Regions from separate parts of the Homo sapiens genome. Here all the other regions are linked to region 1. The links are contacts of gene promoters, found by promoter capture Hi-C in blood cells and fetal thymus (Javierre and others, 2016). All regions are on one chromosome and are shown on one strand. Each heading gives the region's core, a stretch centred on a gene start or on the middle of the fragment in contact. The rest is flanking DNA. Distances are from core to core; before and after follow the strand shown.

The links. The method cuts DNA at HindIII sites, captures the fragments that hold promoters and counts their contacts. A CHiCAGO score of 5 or more calls a contact.
Region 2: a contact is called between a fragment that was not itself captured here and the fragment with the promoter of PRKCH-AS2 in region 1, in 1 of 17 cell types (total B cells). The highest score is 5.8, in total B cells.
Region 3: a fragment that was not itself captured here is called in contact with the fragment with the promoter of PRKCH-AS2 in region 1 in 1 of 17 cell types (total B cells); the score reaches 5.5 in total B cells.

What each region holds. Positions count from the first base shown.
Region 1 is chr14:61,543,813-61,547,439 of GRCh38, forward strand. PRKCH-AS2 (PRKCH antisense RNA 2) reads right to left here and starts at 1,672. Exons shown (of 3, transcript NR_188139.1): 1 at 1,282-1,672. The region is part of intron 12 of PRKCH (protein kinase C eta); the gene reads left to right. The HindIII fragment of the contact is 1,799 bases long and covers 201-1,999 here.
Region 2 is chr14:62,081,161-62,084,689 of GRCh38, forward strand. SYT16 (synaptotagmin 16) reads left to right here. Exons shown (of 8, transcript NM_001367656.1): 6 at 1-114; 7 at 3,036-3,225. Among named protein-coding and RNA genes, the nearest start is that of LINC00644, 57 kb to the right of the region's middle. RefSeq lists an enhancer at 1-31. The HindIII fragment of the contact is 773 bases long and covers 1,058-1,830 here.
Region 3 is chr14:62,097,514-62,101,125 of GRCh38, forward strand. It overlaps SYT16 (synaptotagmin 16), which reads left to right. Exons shown (of 8, transcript NM_001367656.1): 8 at 2,881-3,612. The coding sequence ends at 3,194. Among named protein-coding and RNA genes, the nearest start is that of LINC00644, 41 kb to the right of the region's middle. The HindIII fragment of the contact is 3,229 bases long and covers 266-3,494 here.

The sequences.
Region 1 (3,627 bases), core at 422-2,921:
CAGAGAGTTTAGGGAAAGGCCTGTGCCCAGCCTAGGATGGCAAGCTATCCACCTCCAACTCCACACCATCTGCACCAACGTGAACTGTGAAAGATTTCAGGCCTGGGACTAATGTTAAATGTTCCCTTAACTCCTCATCTCCACATCACTGGACGGGGGTAGTGGTAGAAGGGCCACCCCACCACCACCACAACACACAAAGCTTCTACCCCCTTAGTATCACCCCGGACCCTCCTTCTCCCGGTCCTGGTTTCTGTTTCATGGTATTCATCCTCCTCTGGCCTCTTCATGGCATCCTCCAGCTGCCACTCTGGCTGCTTCTCACCCTACACCAGGGGTCAGGAGCCATGAAAGTCCGTGAGTGATACCAGCCAGGTGGGAGGTGATAGGGAGTGGTGGGGCATGTGACTGACTGGGCATCTGGTGCCCCATGAAAAGCAGAAGCCCCTGCTCAACTCCAGGCCGTTTCTATGAGAGGAGTGCAGGCCCAGTGTTCCCGAGTATCTCATTTTCCACGAGAAGTTGGAAAACCTGACTTTTCATGTGATGTGACATTTCCTAGCGTTTAAATATTTGAGAAGTAATTAAAATTATTTCAAAACACACTAGGTAGGCCAAATAAAATGTGTCTGAGACCTAGGGCTGGTATCAGTTCTAGTCTGTCTCTGTCACTTTCCACAATCTAACCTGCCCTCCCAGCTTCAGTGGTTACTCAAATTTCAATGTCTCTGAGCGTTAGATGGCCAGCCCTGGCCTGCACCCCAGATTTACCCTAGAATTCATCTGCATGTGGGTGCCCACACACCTCCAATGCAAAGCGGAGCCCATCAGCCTCCCAGATTTGGCAGACTGTAGGATCTCAGTAAGTGTGAGCTATTTTTGTCTTTGTTCCACTAACAAAAATACTACTACTACTAACACTGCTACTAATACTCATGCTACAAAGAATAATCTCTTGCCCCTCTTTTGTTCCATTTCTGTTACTCAACACCACTGCCCCATCAGGCAGCCAGGGAGGACCCTGTGATCTTGGACTCTTCACTCCCATTCCCGGCAGTTAGTGGATTGTGTTTATTCTTCCACGGCCCTCTAGAATGTGCTTCCAACTCTTCCTTCCAATTAACTAGAAACTCTCCTAGTTGCTGAACTTGTCATGTGTTCTCAGCTATTGTCTCAGCCTCTAACTGCTCACCACCAGGCGCTACCTCTGCATTTAAGATTTATTCATCACGCTGTGGCTAGTGTCATCCCCTAAATTGCCGTGCAGCTCTCATCACTCACCTCGGATGGATCCCACCGGCTGCCCCCGCAGTTCCTCAGCCATCCCTGCATGCCAGCTGTACCAGGCACTTGTATGCCTCTGCATTTGTGCTGGCTGTGTCCTCAGGCGCATTTTCTTCCTTCATGCCTACTATGTTAATTCTGTTCGTCCTCATCTCTGGTCAAATGCCACCTCTTCCACGAGGCTGTCACTTGCCTTCCCACCACCAGCCCCAGTGTTATTTGCCCCGTGCCTCTTCCAAGCTCTCACAGCACTTGATCTAAGTCTCTTTTCATTTCATCCGGCTGTGTATTATGAAGTTTGCTTGATTCTTCCCCCTTCTCTTGATTAGCTCCTGGATGAAGAGACACTGTCTTTGTCATCTGCGTATCCCCAAGAAACCCCTAGTGTGCTGCCTTACATGTAGTAGACACCTTGAAAACCTTTGTCAATTGAATCAAAGTTTGTTTGTGTGTGTGTGTGTTTTGTTTTTTCTTTTGGTTTGTTTTTTTTGTAAGTTGAGGATGGCTGCATCTAAAGGGCTCAGGCCAAGGTATTAAAAACAAAACTGCTTGGTTATTCAAAAGGATTTATCAGAACCCCAAGAGGCTAAGTATCAAGCTAGTGAAAGGGTTATTCTGCCTGTCCCCAATTCCAAGGGTGCAGTTTTTAGAGGACGGACGGTCGTGTTTGGTCTACTTGTCGTCAGGCAAGGCCTCTTCCACAGTGCCCCATGGAAGCTTGGGTTCAGTGCCAGGGGCAGGGAGGAATGGGCAAGCCTCTTGGACACTGGGGCTTCAGCCACCCTGGCATATAGAGTCCTGCACTGTTTGTCTTGCCCAGAAGAACAGGCTGTACCCACCCATTCACAAGATGTCCTCTCTCACATCATTGGCAGGCCTGGGAATTTCCCACAGGCCATCTGGGTGTGTTCTGCCGTCCTGTCTCCCAAGTTTTTTGCAGCATTGTTTCTTGTTAATTAGCTCTTAGAATAGCAACTGCTCTTCCATCAGGAATTGTATCCCGTTGACTTTCCTAAGGCAAGAATCTACTCATTTCTTTTTTGTAAGCATTTTCTCCCTTCCTGCCTGCATTGCACAGGCTTACTTAGTGAGAGCCCAAGCAGTGTGAACTAACTCCTAGCTCTTACAGAACTGAGTTACTTATAATATGCATCTCCTGAATCCTGGGTGACCACTGTAAGTGCCTGAAGTGGCAGCTGCTCTGACTGGGCCTGTGCAGCTCTGAATGCTGCATTTACTTTTGGGTCCTGCCTCCAACCCAGAACCACCTGTGGCCTTTAATTCCTGTTACTAGGAGAGAGGAGAAGCGATTAAACCCTGTCAGTATATTCATTTATTAGCTGCCCTTTGAAGCTTTTTTGAAAGCATTTTACAAGGTATATCCCGTCAGGTTGCTTAGGAACTTTTGCAGCCTCCTTCTTCAACATTATCATTTTCATTTGAATCAACACTGGCAGCTTGACACCTCTGGACACCTGGCATGGCAGTGGGAGGTACCTCCAAACACTGTCTTTCCGTGTCTGCACCTTCAACAAGATTTTCTCTGTAAATTCAGCTCCAAAACAATTTTTATAAACACAGCATTACTTTTGTGTTGTTCACAAATCAGATTTGGAAAGAGGTGCTTGGGGACTGTCATGAGTCTATTTAAAGATAACCTGATTTAAATAAAAACAAAAACAAAACTTTTTATCCAAGGCAATTTTCTTTCAATATGGGAAATTAAATTAGCTTCAGTGTCTTTGAAATTGAGAACCACACTCCGGCCATGAAAAGTGAATTATCCTGTACTAATCCTTGCTCAGGAAGTGATCAAAACACCTTTCCTGGCTATTTTGTGAAAGCAGATTTAGCCCAGCATATTTTGATAGGAGCCCAGCACTAAGGAAGTTTCCCAACTGATGGAAATACAGAGAATCTCTATGCACACATCGCTTAGCTGTGTGGCAGCGCTCGTTTTAGTTTTTGGTCTATGGAGCAATGGAATCTCAGTCATTGAACCTACTTCGAAACAGCAGTGGTGGGGGGAACATCTTGAAGAAAAGCCTTTCATCTAGAGCTATGATATCTTCGCTGCATAAAGAAAAGTGGCCAACTTTGTTTTTTCTAGAGCCAGGACACAGACCTTTTCAGTATGTCACCTTTGCTGCTTCTTCACACAGATCTTCAAAAATAACGACTCTCTCTCCTCTCTGTGGTCTCGTCAGAGAGCAGGAATCCTGGCCAGCTGGTCAGGTCACTCAGAAAAATGGCACAGCTGTTTCTGAAAGTAGCCCCATTCATAAGATGTCTGCTGCCCACAACTGCAGTGTTGGGGAAAGGCACACTGTTATAAAGAGCTTC
Region 2 (3,529 bases), core at 194-2,693, 540 kb after region 1:
CGGAAGATGACCCGAGAGAGAATGATGGGAGAGAAACTATTCTATCTCAGCCACCTGCACCCAGAAGGGGAAATGAAAGTGACTCTGGTTCTGGAGCCAAGAAGTAATATAAGCGTGAGTATGTTAAATGGTGCTGCTAATGATGTGGTGTGTTCGAAGACCTGGGATTGTCAGCCCTTGATTTAGTACGTTCAGTCTGTGAATTCAGAGACTTTAATTTAATTTTCCATTTGGCTCTCCTCACCCTTGTAAGCCATGATTTGCACTTCATGGTACAATGGGTCTTTCATGCCTGTCTTCCTGATAACCTGATGGATAAATGCCCTGTCCATTTTAGGACAAAATAGCAGCAGTGTGGTAGAGGGCATGGAGAAAAACAGGGAAGGTGGCTTGGCCCTCTGGATTGTGGATAACTGATCCTACTCCTCCTGCCCCCAATCTGCATCATGATGAATCTCAGAGATGGGACTTTCTGGGCAAGGTTCTTAACGGGTATGCTGGGGCAGACTGAGAGAGCAGCCCAGAACTTCAGCTGCTTCTGAAACCTTTCATTTGTGTTACTACCGTCTTCCCTCATACCCCATTTCCCTGCTTGCCACAGGGTTTCAAGGAAAGGTGTCATAATTTACATGCCTACAGGATGGGCAGCTCACTACTGCTGTGGGTTATATGTCATGTAGTATGCCCATCTCCTTTTACAAAACCACGTTAACAGATCAGGGAGCTCTGTAGGCTCTGGATTCAATCAGTCATTCATTCAGAGATGTTTACTGTCAATTATGGTATAGGCAAAGTGGATGCAGGAAAGAACTAAGCAGGCGATGCCTCTGCCCTTGGAGAGCTTGCAGTCTAGTGGTGGCCAAGTAGGCAAGGAGACAGAGTGATAGGCTGCCGCTTGTTTAGAGGATCAGAGAAAGTTTCTTTGAGGTGGTGATAAAACGCCGGAACTCAAAGCATCGAGAGAGCGAGGCTGGTGCTGTGAGGAGGATGAGAGTTCCAGACAGAGTGAACAGCACATGCAAGCAGTCAGGATGTGGGGTGGCCGGGGGAGTGGGGAAGCTTGTCATATCTGAGGAAGAACAAAGGAGACAGAAAGTCTGGACTGTAGTGGTGGCAGATCTGTCTGCTTAAATGTCCAATGATGTCTCAAAATTAACGTCTTCAGGCCTGAAATCCTGATTTTTGCCTCCCTAAATCTATTCCCCCTGCAGTCTTCTCCATGTTGCTTAAAGGCAGTTGCATTCTTCCAATTGCTGGGGTCAAAAATCTCAGAAGTCATCTGTGACTTTTCTGTTTTCCACCTGAAATCCTATTGGCTCTATCTTCAGGTACAACCAGAACCTGGCTCTCTGCTGGATTACTGAAATAGCTGCTCAGCGGTGGTCTTTCCACTTCTGCCTTTGCCTCTACAGACTCTTCTGGACATGGGAGCCAGAATGAGCTTTTTAAAGTTATAAGCCAGATGATGTCTCAGCTCTGCTCAGATCTCCCTTTTTTCTTAATATCTGAGTAAAGCACATCGGAAATGATGGAAAACAGAATGCAGTGGAGATCAGAAGGGATCCTGCGTGATAGAGCTTGGGAATGGGGATGATCACACCCATATTTATGCTTGCTAGGCCCTATGCTGTGTGCTGGTGGCACGGAGTTGAATGGGGAAAATGAGCTAGTGTAAAAGAACTTTGCAGGTGGAAGTCTTTCATTCACCAGTTATTTGTTGAGCACAGTTATGTGCCAGACATTAGGCTATGCACCAGGGACTGAGAGATTTATACGGATTCAGAATTTGATGGGAGAGGCAAGCAGTGAGTGACAGGTGCCACAGCGGGAAGCTTTTATAGGAGCACAGGAGGGGGAGTGAGTCTCACTTAAGAGTAAGCAAATATTTCATTGTTGAATTTTTATCTTCTAGACAGCAGGGTCTGTAAGACATCTATCACGACCACCTAGCCCTGCCGTTTACAAACTATGTTCCATACAGCCTCAGGTTAGGTGGGGGGCGCTCTGCAGAAATGTCTGTGGTTTGGTAAACAGGATACTTTCCTGCAGATGGGCAGAATATTTGATTCCTTTTATTGGTTCTAATTATTGAGTTTCTGGTCAGAAATTTGAAGAAATGATTTCAAACATTGAGAAGAAAGGTTTAAGTCAAGTCTAATGCCCTTGTTTCTGGTGGAGGAGATGGTGTTTCAGGGGGACAGGATTGCCTGCCCCCACAGGGTCGATTCCTACTCCCGTGCCTTGAGGGACAATCAGTGTCCTTCTCAGTTTTGTGCTCCTCCTCCCGATGTGCCCGTGCCTGGTGGGGAAGTGTAGGTGCTCAGGAGAAGCGTGCCCATGAATAAACATGACAGAAAGCTCAGGTTCTCCTGGGCTCACTTGGTGCCTGCCAGGTCGCTGAGACCCACAACCCATGTGTTGTCTTTTTTCTCAAACAGTTGTAAACGTGCTCATTTGTAATGTAAGTTATTTCTTTAAAAGGCAAAATTTGGCACCTGGCATATATTTAACAACCTTAAGCAGAACTAGGAGCCAAATGTTCTATGTGGGGGTAGACGTCCAGTGGTCATTTCTTTTATAGTTAAGACACAACGCCTCCTGTATTGCCATATTCATCAAGGAGCTGCAGAGAACAGAAACAAACCTCAGGCCTGGAGTGGAGGGGTTCCTTAGAAACATCCAAGCACAGATTACACAGGGGGGAATTTGAGTCTATATTGAATGTATTATTAACTCTCCTTGTATCTTAGAGGGTTTGATTTACACTAGTAATAACGTCTTTGTCCGTTTTGCCTTTAGAGAGGAAATATTGAATGGAGACAGCTCTTGAAACAAATATGTCAGTTCCTAATGCAGGGATCTCATCCGTGACTGTGCTCCCTGGGCCCATTGTAATTCACGCCGAGTGCGCCCTTAGTCATCTTTGGCAGTCATTGGGGATTGGGTCACAATTTCACCAAACATAATATCGGCTTTCTCTAAAAGAGAGTAGTGCAGCGTGGGCCAATGGATTCTTTGTTGTTCTTCCCCTCCAGAGTGGAGGGTCTCCGCTCAGCCCATCTGCGGTTTCTCACAGTGATAGTACTTCATCCACGCAGTCGCTGTCTCATGGAGGGGCGCCAGAGCTGTTGGTGGGGCTCTCGTACAATGCCACAACGGGGCGATTATCTGTGGAAATGATCAAAGGCAGCCATTTCCGAAACCTCGCTGTTAACCGAGCACCTGGTAAGTGTGAGTCTGTTCTCCCAGCTCTGGTTCTTCCAGAGGCAAGTGGAAAGCCCTGTCTGCTTTCATCTTAGTTCTTTAATTTTTACCATAAAAATGATCTTATTATGGCTTAAGCAAGCTTTCACAAAGAGATACCTCTGTATTTTTTAAATGGCTCTCTATTTAATTAGACTTCTTTGCTATCTAGATGTTTCTGGACATGAAATAGACTGGCCTGTGTGTCTATATTGTTTAAAGGAAAAGAATGAACAGCATTTTCAGCAACATAATGTGTATGGGCAATTAAAATCTGCTAATACGT
Region 3 (3,612 bases), core at 630-3,129, 550 kb after region 1:
CTATTCCACAGAAGCAGAATTTCCTGGGCACAGCCTCTGCTCTGAAAGTTAAGAAGTAGGTGCATTATTACTGTTAATAGATGTTTCCGTTTTGAACTAGAACAATGAACATTTTCCTTCCTTTTGTCTGGTGTCTTCAGACTGGATTGCTTTTAAGATTATTATTATTTCTCTGCGTTATACACATACAATCCAACTTCAGTGATAGTAATTTGGTAGTAAGTGGCCTTTCTCATAATTAGAAAATACTCTTATGGCAGGATAAAGCTTGAAATTGCTCTCTTTGTGAAATGAGCATGCTTTTGTTTGCAAGATTAACTCAATTCCCACTGCTATACCTGGCAGCACAATTGCCCAATCAGTTTGGTGACTGGACTGAACTTTTTCTACAGGAATCATGTAGCTATGCAGCTTCAGAAACACAAATCCACTCCCTCATTGTTGGTTTTCTGACAGCTTTTTCTGTAGAACAGTTTGAAGAGAAGAGAGCCCTGTTTCTGAGACAGAGAAGTGTTTTCACACCTGAAGTGTAATTTCACACCTTGTGTTTCTCAGCAGATAAGTGCATAAAATAACACATCAAACTGAAATAGAAAAAGATCAACATAGAAAGAAAACTGCAGGTTGTAATTTGTTTCCTATCTTACAATGCTTTTGGAGAGAACAGTAAATTACAGAGATCTGCGTTTACGCTTTAAAAAGTTTGACTGGTCGTTAGGTGGGAAAATGAGCAGTAAACACTAATCAGCTTGCTGCCTGCATTGAACAGAATGTACAGAATGATTGAATTTGGGAAACACCCTAACATTTTGAGTTTTAAGGAGAATAATGTGTGCATGTTAGTAGTAAAAGTTGCAGATAAAGGTCAAGACATTTATAAATTGATTTTAATAAAAATGTGATTGAGGAGATAATTATTTTATGATGGTTCCATTCAGGAATTTTAGCAAAAGGAGATCATGTTAGTAAAATTTGAGTGCTTTCTTTCCTTTCTATATTGACGCTAGTCACTGTTTTCTGGCACTCTAGTGGAGGGGTTCTACGATGAGGAGGTTTAGCTTTATTGCACAAGTTTGAAAACTTGAGACTGAAAGAAAAAGTTGAGCTTCCTGACTAGACATGAACATTCATTACAAAATATTTATTGAAGGTCTAGCACATGGTAGTCACGAGCTAAGCATCAGGGGTTCAATGGTTAATAAGGAAATCCCTCTCTTTACCACTGGAAAACTGCATCTTTGCAGACAAATAGGCAGCGATAATACTGGTGATAAGTGCTGAGACAGGCTAAAACTAGGTTTTAGTGGAGACTATAAGAGGGTTATCTGAACTGGTGGGAGTGAGAGAAAAAGGTCAGAAAGGTCAGCAAATATTCCCAGATAAAGTGATATCCAGATTGAACTTAATGAACAAAAGTCATATGAGGCTGAGTATTAGTGGGGATGTCAGAGCATGGGGAACATGTACAGATGAGACAGGGAAAAAGAACAAATTGGGTTGGAGGAGGGGAGGAAGTTCAATGTAGTAGAATGCAGTGTATAATGGCAGCAGTGGTAAGCAATGAGACTAGAAGATAGGGCCAAAGAAGACAGTCTACACCAAGAAATTGAGCTCTCATCTTGAGACTAGTGGGAAGTATTGAAGACTTTGTTTGTGTTTATTAGTGAGAGTGACATGGCCAGATTTGTATTTCACAGAGATTGCTCTGGCAGTCCCCTGACTAGAAGGTCAGTGAGGAAACGTGAGGTAATAAAGGTGAGAAATGCTGGCACCCTGAGCTTGCAGTGTACACAGAGTTCAGAGGCACTGGGGATGGAAAGAAGTGGGTAGATTTGGGAGCTGTTTGAGAGTTAGAATCAACAGAATGTGGCAACTGATTGGGTGGACTGGGAATGAGGAAGTCAGTCTTGTGAAAAATGAGGTCCTGATTTCTGACTTGGATAATTTGGTGAATGATGCTGCTATTCACAGGGATAGGGAACACTGGAACAGCAAATGTTTAGAGTTGGGGGCATATTGAATGTAAGATTAGTGTAAGATTTCAAGAGAAGAAGTGTAGTATTCAGCTGGATCTCGAGTTTGGGAGAGAAGTTGAGGCCAGACCTGTGGACTTGGTAGATGTCATTGAAACTATGGGAGTGGATGAGATGGTCCAAAGGATATGTAGATGCCTGGGCAACATAGGGAGACCCTATTTCTACAAAAAGTTAAAAAATTAGCTGGGCATGATGGTGCATGCCTGTGGTTCCAGCTACTCAGGAGGCTGATGGGGTAGGATCGCTTTGGGCCCAGAAGTCAAGGCTTTAGTGAGCTGTGATCATGCCACTGCACCCCAGCCTGGGCAACGGAGCAAGACCTTGTGTGTCTGTCTGTCTGTCTGTCTGTCTCTCTCTCACTCACACACACATGCACACACACATACACAGACATATGAATATGTAGAGAGTGAGAAAAGAATTCTCCAATTCAGGCATAAAATAGCAATTTGACTATGAAAAAATCATGTAGAGCAAAATGTGTATATTTATCTTGTTACATAAATAAATGTAGATGAAGAACTGTGCCTGCCCACAAGCACCATTGCACGTATGCCTGTGCACGAATGTATACACCCTGTGCATGTAGAAGTACTAATGAACATCAGCAATGTGTGCTGGATAGTGAGCCACATGAAACATTAGGTATTCAAGGTAATAATTCCCTTCCTTAATAATTCATGCAAGATGTGTTGCCCAACAGCAAGAACCAGGCTTAAGGATACTGATCAGTATGTTGAAAGGAGAAATTTGTAGCCCATATAAATGTTACAGCTAGTCTAGCCAAACAGAGAGCACTAATGTTTCTTATCATCCCCACCCCACCCTTTTTTTTTTGTCTTAGATACATATGGAAAACTCTTTCTCCTCAATTCTGTGGGTCAAGAGATGTCCCGTTGCAAGACGTCCATTCGGCGTGGTCAGCCCAATCCTGTCTATAAGGAGACCTTTGTTTTCCAGGTGGCCCTCTTTCAGCTGTCTGATGTCACGTTGATGATTTCCGTTTATAACAGGCGTACTATGAAGCGTAAAGAGATGATTGGCTGGATTGCCCTGGGCCAGAACAGCAGTGGAGAGGAGGAACAAGATCACTGGGAGGAGATGAAGGAAACCAAAGGCCAGCAGATCTGCAGATGGCACACTTTGCTGGAATCCTAGGTTTGCTAACCTGCATTTGTGTGCTGTGTCCACCTTGGTTACCTGTGTTGCTGTCTACTGACACTAAGTGTCCTGGCAAGGGTTTCAGGGTTTCAAAAACAGATTCCACTAACCCCTAGGACATTGTGAGTGGGAGTTTTGGGTTTCTCAATGGTCTGATTTGGATTTAAATATTGTAATTTTAAAAACACACATACACAGTGAAGTGTCCGTATGGAAAATATTATACCACAATTAAGACCACTGATGAGTTAATTTGTGCCAATAGATCATTGAGTTTTAGTTCAGGGTATGGGGTGAAGCTTCTTCTGCTGTCTCTGTTTGCTTGAAGAGTAACCTGAGATTGCAAGGGAGCTGTTAATTGTTACTATTTGCAACCATTTAGGTGGATGAATCAGAATTTTCTTAATATGGTACA